2 separate regions of the Homo sapiens genome follow, and region 1 is linked to region 2. Evidence: promoter capture Hi-C in 16 types of primary human blood cells and fetal thymus (Javierre and others, 2016). All regions are on one chromosome and are shown on one strand. The core of a region is centred on a gene start or on the middle of the fragment in contact, and the rest is flanking DNA. Distances in the headings are between cores, read along the strand shown. Region 1 overlaps FBXW7 (F-box and WD repeat domain containing 7). Region 2 holds the start of TMEM154 (transmembrane protein 154).

Region 1 (5,201 bases), core at 714-3,213, 280 kb before region 2:
ATTCTCTATGGTACTACATTGGTAGATGCGTGTCAATACACATTTGCCCACACCCACAGAGTGCACAACACCAAGAGTGAGACCTTGGTGGAAACTATGGATTCTGGATAATGATATGACAAAGGTAGATTCACTGACTATAACAAATGTACTACTCTGGTAAGGGTGAAGCTGTACATGTGTGCACCAGGGGGCATATGGGAACTCTCTAGGCCTCTCATTCAACTTTGCTGTGAATCTAAAACTAATCTAAAAATTAAAGCTTGTTAATTTAAAAAGACAGAATGGCTAATGCAGGAAGTCTCCAAAAAACATTTCGCAGACCTCAAGGATCAATAATTCAAAGACAAGGTTTCCTTGTAAAGGACAAGTGTATTTCTTCTTACCAGATTGGAGGGATAGAAGAAAAAAGATACATATGAAATACTAGGTGAAGGAATGTAGAAATAATTCATGTTAATGGGTCATGTTTCAGTGAAGCAGAGGGGAGTGGGGGAAATTCCCTTTGAGGGGCTGAACAAGTCAACTGTTCAAACAGGTTACCAAATAATAATAAGACTATTATTATCATAATAACTGAAAGAATCAGGAATATAAAAGAAGTATACACACTGACTCCAGCTACACAAAATACATATCCATGTGGTCAATGACTGACAAGTATTATGTAAAAATTTATACACTAATTCTTTGTTGACTAATAATTAGGTTATCAGGGTACCTGATAACACAATAAATATTATTAGGCAATAAAATAAGAAATCAAAGGGCTTAAGAGAGAGGGAGAAAAACAAACTTAATACGATGAGTCACAATAAATATACCACAGTAACAGAGATTTAGTTGAGGCAACATTTGGGGACATGAAAATAAATGTTAGGGCGGTAGCTTTATAGGTTATTTCATCACAGCCCACTCATCCCAAAATTACTAATATTGTTTAACTGAATTTCCAAACGTTAACAAAAGTACAACCGGGACCCAGCATAAGATCTGAGTTCCAATCCCAACTCCACTATTTACCAGCTGACTGATACAAGATTAATTACTTAACCTCTCTTCACATATTTCTCATCTCCATTATGGGGTTAAAGATTAGAAATGACATATTAGGACTGTTAAGATAAATGAGAAAAAATATAAGTATATATACACATTCTGGGAACACATTGAAGGCATTCAGTCTGGAGAAGATCACAGATGAATATGGCAGCAATCTTCTCCTATGAAAAGAGCTGTCACTGCTCTAGGTAGAAGAACAAGGACCAAAGCAAAGTCAGAGATGTCAACACAAAATAAAGAACCCTAACATAAATAACGTCTAAAACTATGAAGATACTTCACATTGCAGTATTCCTTTGTAATGACCTCATTTGTAAGTTCAAGTCTGTTGGTAAAGCCACTGGGCACAGGTTTGGCCTTGGTGATCTCAAAGGTCCACTCCAATTTGGGGTCTGTCTTAGGAGACTTAAAATCAGGACTAAAAACCCTTAACATGTTAAATATATCATTAGTTTGATGAAATGGGGAGTTGGGAATACGGGAAGGGAGGGAAGGGAAAGCACTGATGATTTCCTCATAAAGCAGTGGCCACTTTAGAATTATGTTTTAAGGCTGGGCACGATGGCTCATGCCTGTAATCCCAGCACTTTGAGAGGCCAAGGCAGGTGGATCACTTGAGGTCAGGAGTTCGAGGCCAGCCTGGCCAACATGGTGAAACCCTGTCTCTACTAAAAATACAAAAATTAGCTGGACGTGGTGGCAAACACCTGTAATCCCAGCTACTCAGGAGGCTGAGGCAGGATAATCGCTTGAACCTGGGAGGTGGAGGCTGCAGTGAGCTGAGATTGCACCACTGCACTCCAGCCTGGGCAACAGAGCCAGACTTCATCTCAAAAAAAAAAAAAAAAGAATTGTGTTTTAAAACGGTAGTCACCAACCTTTTTGGCACCAGAGACAGGTTTCATGAAAGACAATTTTTCCATGGACAGGGGAAGTGGGGGGATGGTTTGGGATGAAACTGTTCCACCTCAGCTCACCACGCATTAGACTCTCGGAAGGAGCATACAACCTAGATCTCTCGCAAGCACAGTTCACAATAGGGTTCGTGCTCCTATTAGAATCTAATGCCACAGCTGATCTGACAGGAGGCGGAGCACAGGCGGTAATGCTCACTCACCTACCGCCCGCCTCCTGCTGTGAGGCCCAGTTCCTAACAGGCCACAGACTGGTCCATGGCCTGGGGGTTGGGGACACCCATTTTCAAAAACAGACTCTGAAATTGCTCGGAGAACGGTTTTTATATGAAAAATATTCATGTTTAGAGAGAGCCAAAAGTGCTATCAAGGCTAAAGAACTCTTCAAAGAAAACAATAAATATCTTCAAAACAAGAACGGATACTACTATGCTATTACTCTTCTAATAACGTGTTAAGTTGATCTTAGAAAATTGCCAGGGTAACACCTGAGCCCTAGAGATGTGAAGAATCAGTTACACTAGGACTTAAAGAGTTCTGTGCTCTTTCCACTATGAAATGGGGGGTTGGGAATAGGGGAAGGTTTCCACTATATTCAGCTGCATTCTCATGCAGAGATCATGATATAATGACATTTCCTGTGAGGAACATCTTTTTATCCAATCCTCCATTAGGAGCATTATACACCATGTAAAGTCATCAAAAAAGACCACATAGAATAATAATTGGTTTCCAGCAGAGAGTTATTTTTCAAATAAAGAGGCATATATGCTTGTTATAACAAAATGGAGAAATTATAAAATGTATTTAAGAAAAAATAACCTTTTATTCAACCACATTCAGAGATAATTCCTAACATTTGGTACAACTTCTTCTGATCTTTTTCTTTGCATATGTATATATGTAGATACATACACACACACATATATAAAAATGTATGTTTGCTTCATAATTAAGATCACACTGTATAGAGTTTTGAATCCTATATTTTAAATAAAATATTTTTAAGCATTTCCTGTTATTAAATATTCTTTCAAATGTGATGTTTAATGGCTGTATGAATTGCCTTCAACTGATTTCTGCATGTTAGCAAAATGATTCCTAAAGTGGGATTTTTAACTTCTCCTCAGGGCAGTCTCAATTTAACGATCTGTACATATACTGAATACCTGAGTCTTAAACTCAATTTTAATGACGTGCCCATTTACAATTTCTAGTCTAGCTTAGGTACATCTTAAGAGGTGAAATGAGGCTGGGGCATGGTGGCTCATACCTGTAATCCCAGCACTTTGGGAGGCCCAGGCAGGAAGATCACCAGAGCTCAGGAGTTTGAGACCAGGGTGGGCAACATAGTAAGACCTTGTCTTTACAGATAATTCAAAAATTAGCCAAGCGTGGTGGTGCCACGAGTGGTCCCAGTTACTCGGGAGGCTGAGGTGGGAGAATTGCTTAAGCCTGGGAGGTGGAGGCTGCAGTGAGCCATGATTATGCCACTGCACTCCATCCAGCCTGGGCAACAAAGCAAGACCTTGTCTTAAAAAAAAAAAAAAAAAAAAAAAGAGGTGAAATGACAACTGTTCACATTACAGTTTGCCAGTCTTCAATTCTCAAACTGAATTAGGACTGAAAACAAATTTACCAAATTTCTACTGCTCAAAAAAGTGAAGAATTATATGTCAACTTAAGACAAAGCTTACCAAAAATGTCACCAGGTAATACCAAATGAACTGCACCATGAAGAGAAGCAAGAACAGGTTGAAAGGAATTCGATTTTCTAAATCTAGGAAGGTATTAAGATAGGGGATTTGGACTTCGATTTGAAGGATATGGCTGGTGGGAAGGAGTATGATTCAAAACAAGTAGAGAGGAGAGGAGATGAAACCAGGTAAAAACTATGGTAAGATATTGGAAGACTTCAAACATTCTCATTTAGGTTTGGCTTTATCAGTGGGAAATGGGGCACCAGATATCTGTATTGAGGTTATTATCTATACAGAGCTAAAAATTCATTTTAAAAAACTCATCCAATTATTCATACTGCCAACTCATTGTCAAGGACGTGGCGTTATAGCCTGATGCAAACAGAAGCCCAAGCAAAAATGCTCTTAACGTTTTTAAACACTGACCCTCCAATTTTTATCTTACAATTGCCTGGCGGGTAAGAAAAAGAGAGACTAAGTGATCAAGTCTGTTAAATTATTCAGCAGGCCCAGACTCAGATGATAAGAAAAAGTCAAGCCACTTTTCTATCCACTGACCAGAAGATGGGACCTATTGAGAGGGAAAAGATAACCTGGGGAGGCAAATAAAAACTTGGTTTGGAGAAAGAAACAGTACTTTTAGTTTTCAGTGGACCACTCAGATGATGATGCCCAACAGACAGCTAGAAATGCAAAACTATGGCTAAGGTGAATGATCGGAGCTTGAGAAATAATTTTGGAGTTAACTACCAAAGTGAAAACAATATTCATCATGATCTATTCCTATGTCCTTTTTCTTCATACTGTCTTCCCTACCACCAACAAAAACAACATTAAAAATGGATCAGATCATTATAATACACATATGAAACAATTTTCTTTGGAAGCATTTTGAAGATAACTATTTGTGATATTTGTGTATACTTCAGTGAAGTTTATCATCTGTATAAAGAACTAATCAATGGAATGCTATAAAACAATTTTAAAATGGTCCATTTGGTGTGAAGATTATTCTTTAGTCTACAATGAAACCTCATAATTAAAATACTTTTTGAGCTGGGCACGGTGGTCCACGCCTGTAGTCCCAGCTACACAGGAGGATCTCTTATGCCCAGGGGTTCAAGGACAGCCTGGGAAACACAGCAAGGCCCCGTCTCTTAAATAATTAATAATAGTAACTGTCATTACCTGCAGTGAATGAGATACAGTTTATCACCAACATTTAGAGCTATTATTGTTTAAAATAATATTAACAAATACATTTAAAACTATATTAACAGGCATTAATTAGAAATTAACCATGAGCTAAAATTCATTTTGGCATCCATATGGAAGATTCATTAAAGCATTTAAATATACAGAAGCTTTAGTTAAAGATTAGAAGAAAGTCTAGAGAAATTGACTTAAATTCTAATGAAAGGAAAGGGTACATATTTTATCAACTAGGGAGATCTGTGGGTAGCATCGACTTCAAAATTTATGTCTATTTTTATTGAAGATGGGCCTAGCTTATTACAGTACTCTT
Region 2 (5,510 bases), core at 2,854-5,353:
CCTGGGATTCCAAATTTCAGACACAGAAGGACTTTAAAGCTCATCCTCTCTGTCTGTTTTTTGGGGGAGTCCCTTAGAGTATTTGGTCGTAATGGCCAGTTCTCAGTAGGGCTCTCCCACAGTGACTGCCTGACATAAGGCTGTTCTTCTCCTCGCTGGTTCCCACACCCTGAAGCCTCTTACCCAGTGACTTCAACATTCTGTTTTTCCTGCTTCTAGTCTTAAATCCCCAGATTCTCTTGTGCTCACTCTGCACCTCTTTCAGCCCCTCCCTTCCTCCTCAGCAGTCTGAGTTTTAACCCAACTCTCATCATTCCTCTTCCTCTCAGCCAGTCTCTGACCCAGTGCAAACAAATGCAGCTCTATAATTGACATGCAGCCACCGCAAAGCCTAGCCAAGAGTTCTGTGCTGCACCTACAGCTGGAAAGGTTCAACAACCACAGTTTTCTAAACCCAAAACTAAACGAGTAGCCTGGCAGAGCTTGGAAACCCAGAGGTAGTATGGAGTATGGTTAGAGAATGGACTCCTGAGGCAGAATCTTACTTAGATTCACTAATTAGCTGTGTGACCTTGGGCAAGTCACTTAGCCTCTCTGTGCCTCAGTTTTCTCAAATGTAAAAACAGGGATAATAGTGCCCACCTTATAAGGTTGTTCTGAGAATTAAATGAGTTAGTGAATGTAGCATTTAGAATAGTGCCTGACCTATAATGAGTTCTATATATGTTAGCTACTATTGTTATTAATACTTGAAATTGGGACTGTCCCAGGAAACAGCAGATGTCAGCCGTGTTCATTAAAATAAGATATGAGATACCACAGTGTCAGAATGTGTAGCCTTACTTACATAGCTAGTATTTTCTACTATTCTTTCTCTCCTTGTCAAGATTCATCCAATACTTATATAATTCTTATTCTTCTGAACCAGCCCAGAAAATCTCCCATTCCTCTCTGTTTGGCCACCAAAACAGTCACAGCATCCTTGTTTCTGCCTCATGGCCTTCAGCTCTCCCTTCTGCAACAATTCTGCTTTTAGCAACTAACAAATCCCATGCTTTTGGTATTTAGGAAATTGCTTTTGGTTTTCTGATAGTATTAAGCTGACACTGACAGGGCATAAAGAACAGAGACGGGGACACCCCTGCCCCACTTTACTCCATGAGCAGAACATCTCCTTGAGTTTGAACTTTCTTAGGATCCTACACTGGCCAAGGCACCTAGGCCCAAGCTTTCCTTTAACTATGCTCACCCATTCCATTATAGTCCCAGAAAAGCTGCTTTCTTATTTCTCTCCTGGTGACTTCCAAGTGAATTATTTCTCTTGGGGTAGAACTCAATTCTATGTCAGGCTATCTATCTCTAAAAAGAGAAGAGGTCGCTGACTCAGAGGTAACAGTGCTGGTCTCATGCAACTGCAGATATTATCTCATGTTGCCTGCTCGTTGTTAATAAAGGCTTAATTTGAGATACATCTCAGAGTATACTCACAAACAGTGTCAGGCCCTTCAGTAGGTTGGATTCATCTAACAAACATCCCCAGGTATTTTTTGAAGAATTCAAGGAAATATACCTGTGACACCTAGAAAGTAACTCATATCCTGAAGCCTTAGGCACTATTAGCTAAAAGTAGTGTACATTAATTAATTTTAAAAATCTTTAATTTAAAATCACCTTTTCCATGATGAATCATCTCAAAGTCATAGCTTTTATTCAACAGCTTTTTGCAAGTGGGCATTTTTCAGACATTGGGAATCCCAGCAGGGCCCAATTAGCATGTTGGATTATTTAGGTAATCCCTGCACTCTACTGAAATGCAACTTTTCATCTTTGACTTCTCTTTACATTCCAACACTACCTGTTTTCAGGAGCTATCAGTTTTTTTTGTAATCAGCCTCATATCCATTCTAGGGATGATTTTCATATTTATCAACAATTATTTTCTCATTTATGCTGAGCCCTTACAGGATTTTGGAAAGTCAAAGGTGAACTACAGAGGATTTTCCCTGGAGCTGTTCACAGCCAGTTGGGAGGCATGGACACAATTATGGTTCAAAGTGATTAGCAGAAGTTTAGGTCTATCGGGGCACAGCAGCAGGTACGAGTAGAGCTCCAGGGAAGGGGCAGAGAAAGGAGACATCAAGGAGGAGATCACATTTAGTTTGATACTTTTAAGGTGATACAAGAATTTGCTAGGTAGGAAAAAGAATGTATTCATTATAGGCAAGAGCCACGGAGGGGGACGACAACTGGAAGGAGGTGCCACTGGGAAGGAGGTTGCAGTGAGAGTCTAAGGGGCAAAAATGAGGAACAAGTGAAGGGGCATAAATGAGGGGTCCTTAAGGGGGAAGATGTGCACGATCAGATTCAGGTGTCAGAAAGGCAACTTTAACCAAGTCTCTTCAGATTCTCTTTTTGCATCTCCTGAATTGCAGACACTAGGACTCAATCATTTTTTAGAAGCTAAAAAAAAAGTTCAGGCAAGATGAATTAGTATTAAGGGAGTGTTTGAGGCACCTGTGGCAGTGTTGTGCAATAGAAGAGGTGGAAGGAGGATGGCTAGGCTTTTCTTCCCTGATGTCCTACTACGAAAGGTTCCAGAGCTCTTGGCAGAGACAGTGATTGGTTCCGGGGCGGCGGTGGGGGGAGGGGGGCAGTGGTGGTGGGGGGTGGAGGAGCTCAAAGAACTCTGGAGTAGAAGCCAGAAGAGCTGACTAGCAGCAAGACCCAGACATCTCCCTTCTTCCACCTCTGTTTCTTCACCTGTGTGCCCAATATGGTTTGAGCTGCATCATCTTCAAGTTCCCTTCCAGCTCCAAAACACTGGGCATAAAACAACACATCAACTTCCAAACCCACTCTGAACACTAAACTCAATTTAACCAGACATCTTTTCAGCTGGAATGATTTGCCTTCCACTTTGTTTTCTACCTCAGATGCCTGGGGGACCACATGGAGAACACCCAGGGGAAGAGAAATTGATGGAGTGGGGTGGCTGGGTGCTGGCTGCTGACCTCCAGGAAGTTGTCACATCTGTTAGGTTGGGGCTGATGTCCCTCATTCTATCTAAAGAACTGTAGCTTGAGAACTTTCCTTTTGCTTGGTAAATACTGCCCTACACTAGAAGCAGTCGGTGTTCATTGACAGAAACAATGGGCAGCCAGTGTATTTGCCCAAAGGCAAGTCAACAAGAGAGGCAGCTGAAGGTGCTTGTGCTTGTTGTAGCAACTGGCAAGGGTGTAAATCAGTTGTTGCTTTTAGCCCATAATAATGAGATTCAATATTGTTTTTTCCAATACCTTTGATTGGTTCCAATCATATTACTTTTTCAAACAAATCTTCATTAGTAACAATCAATGCAAAAAAAAAATCTGTAAAAGTAACAAGGTGCAATAAAAGTAGATGAAAGACCTTACTTGATGTGTTAGAGGGCTACCCTCTAACACATAGCTCTTTGGTAGCTCTTCGGATAATTTCCCGTTTCCTTTTTTTTTTTTTAAGTTTATGTCGTTTCTTTAGTATGCTTTCTAGTAGTAAATTTTCACACCCCAGTTTTTCCAGGAGATTTTGGAATCAGCAGACTTCTCAGCCCACACCATAAAAAGCAAATTAATCATGTCTCTGTTTCAGCCAATTGAAGCTTTTGTTTTTTTTTACATAAACTGCCAAAAAGTTTATGGTTTTCTTAATATGCCCATTAAAGCTGGTAAATTACAGGGACGCACACTTCCTGGAAGACAAAGACTGAAAGAGGGTTAAATGAAGTGAGAGCTGTAGCCAGTTTAGACAGCTGCAGCGAAAGCGAAGTCCCCTCTCCATCCCACCCCCCAAAAAAAGGAGTTCTAATTTTCTCCACTTCTTTCACAGAAAGGATTAGATTTTCTGGGTGTCACCCTCCCCGGCAGAGTTCTGTAGCCTCGGGCACCCTACCAGCTTTTGCGATCCTCCTTCCCAGGAGTAGGAAGTGGAGGCGGCTTACCCCGGCCGACGGGAACGAGCGCGATCACCAGGGCGAAGACTAGGGCTGCGCGGGGAGCCTGCATGTCCGCTCGCCTCGGCAGAGGCGCGCTCAGGATGCTGCGCCGGGCTGCAGCCTCTCTGAAACGTGAACATTTCCTGTTTCCTGCTTGTTTGGGTCGGTGCTGACTTGAAGGAGAGGTGTGTGCCTGTTTTTTAGGAAGTGATGTAATTCTGCAGGAGCCTGTCAGACCAGCAAGGATTGCAAAAGAGAAGTTGCTGTTGAAGCACTGGTTCTATTATCACGCCTCTCCAGCCCTTTGGAGTCCCGGCCTCCAGCTTTTGAAACCGTCCCCGGGGCAACAGAGTCCCTTGCTCAGATGTCGTTCGGTATCTGGGACTGGGAGGGGTCCTGGACCACACGCATTCTCACTCTGTGATTTTGCTTATCCCCCAGGTGAGGCTCCGGGGCTGCCTAGACCCTAGGAAGAAGCTGTCCTGTAGAACTTTCTGCCCTGATGGAAATGTTCCAAGTCTGCGCCGTCTGATACAGTATCAGCCACATTGGCCACTGAGCATTTGAACTGAGGCTAGTGCTGATGGAATTTAAATTTTATTGAATTTTTATAAAATTTTAATAACTCCAAGTGGCTAGTGGCTGCTGTGTTGGATAGCGCAGGCCCAGACAGCAGGGACAACTGCATCATCAGAAAACTGCCAGACCACTTCTCTCCGCCAGGTCCATTCTCCTTTCTCCACTCTGGAATGCCCTCCTCCCACCAAGGCCCACGCCAGATGGAGGTGGATGCCACACCCACACCTTAAGGTTATGTTCTGCTTCCCCAGAGAGAAATGATCTTTTCAAGGTCCATTTCCAAAGGAGAATATGCTCTGAGGGTGGAGGTAGGGGTGAATCTGCATCTCACCTTCCTTCCTTCTTACTTGACAATCAAGTTCTCAGACAACAAACAAAACAGGACAGAAACGAAATAGAATAATGGTAGAAATCCTATCCAATCGAAACAATACAGAAAGGTTGTGTCTAGTATACAGTGGAGATTAGTGTGTGTTGGGTGTTCTATTGGAGGTCCTTCCCTTGGTTTAGGTTTAGGGCCTAAGCATTCAGAATGCAGTTTCATAATCGTGGTGCCAAGAGAGACAGACAGATGGAGAGAGGGGTAGTGTTGAGGCATCAGACACATCTCATCTCTAAACCTTTCCCTGCAGATCACCATCTGAGTCATGACTTCCCGTCGTTTGTCTTCAGTGATCTGGTTGGTGCAAACGTATGAGGTGACTGGAATTCCTTAGCCCCTGACATAGCTGTTAATTTTTCTTTAATGCATTGCTGCTTTTCAATGTCATTAGTCACTGTTTATCTCAGTTATTATTCACAAGAAATAGGTTGGTGATTCATGTAAGGATCAGTTTGTTAATGGATTTACAGTATGCACTTTAATGTTTTAAACTGGCAATTAAGTCAATTCTTGATAAAATATGCTTTTTGCACCACAGGTGACAATACAGAACAAACAGCAGGAGAAAATAGACGTGCT

The links. Contacts are between HindIII fragments. The CHiCAGO score rates a contact against its expected background, and 5 or more counts as called.
Region 1: a fragment that was not itself captured here is called in contact with the fragment with the promoter of TMEM154 in region 2 in 2 of 17 cell types (monocytes and total B cells); the score reaches 6.5 in monocytes.

What each region holds. Positions count from the first base shown.
Region 1 is chr4:152,401,584-152,406,784 of GRCh38, forward strand. The region is part of intron 4 of FBXW7 (F-box and WD repeat domain containing 7); the gene reads right to left. Among named protein-coding and RNA genes, the nearest start is that of FBXW7-AS1, 67 kb to the left of the region's middle. The HindIII fragment of the contact is 3,406 bases long and covers 261-3,666 here.
Region 2 is chr4:152,675,894-152,681,403 of GRCh38, forward strand. It overlaps TMEM154 (transmembrane protein 154), which reads right to left and starts at 4,104. Exons shown (of 7, transcript NM_152680.3): 1 at 3,977-4,104. The coding sequence starts at 4,040. LOC105377495 (a long non-coding RNA gene) reads left to right here and starts at 4,192. Exons shown (of 4, transcript XR_939359.3): 1 at 4,192-4,411; 2 at 4,694-4,780; 3 at 5,182-5,247; 4 at 5,470-5,510. RefSeq lists enhancers at 581-670, 3,738-4,567, 3,878-4,187. The HindIII fragment of the contact is 2,211 bases long and covers 3,636-5,510 here.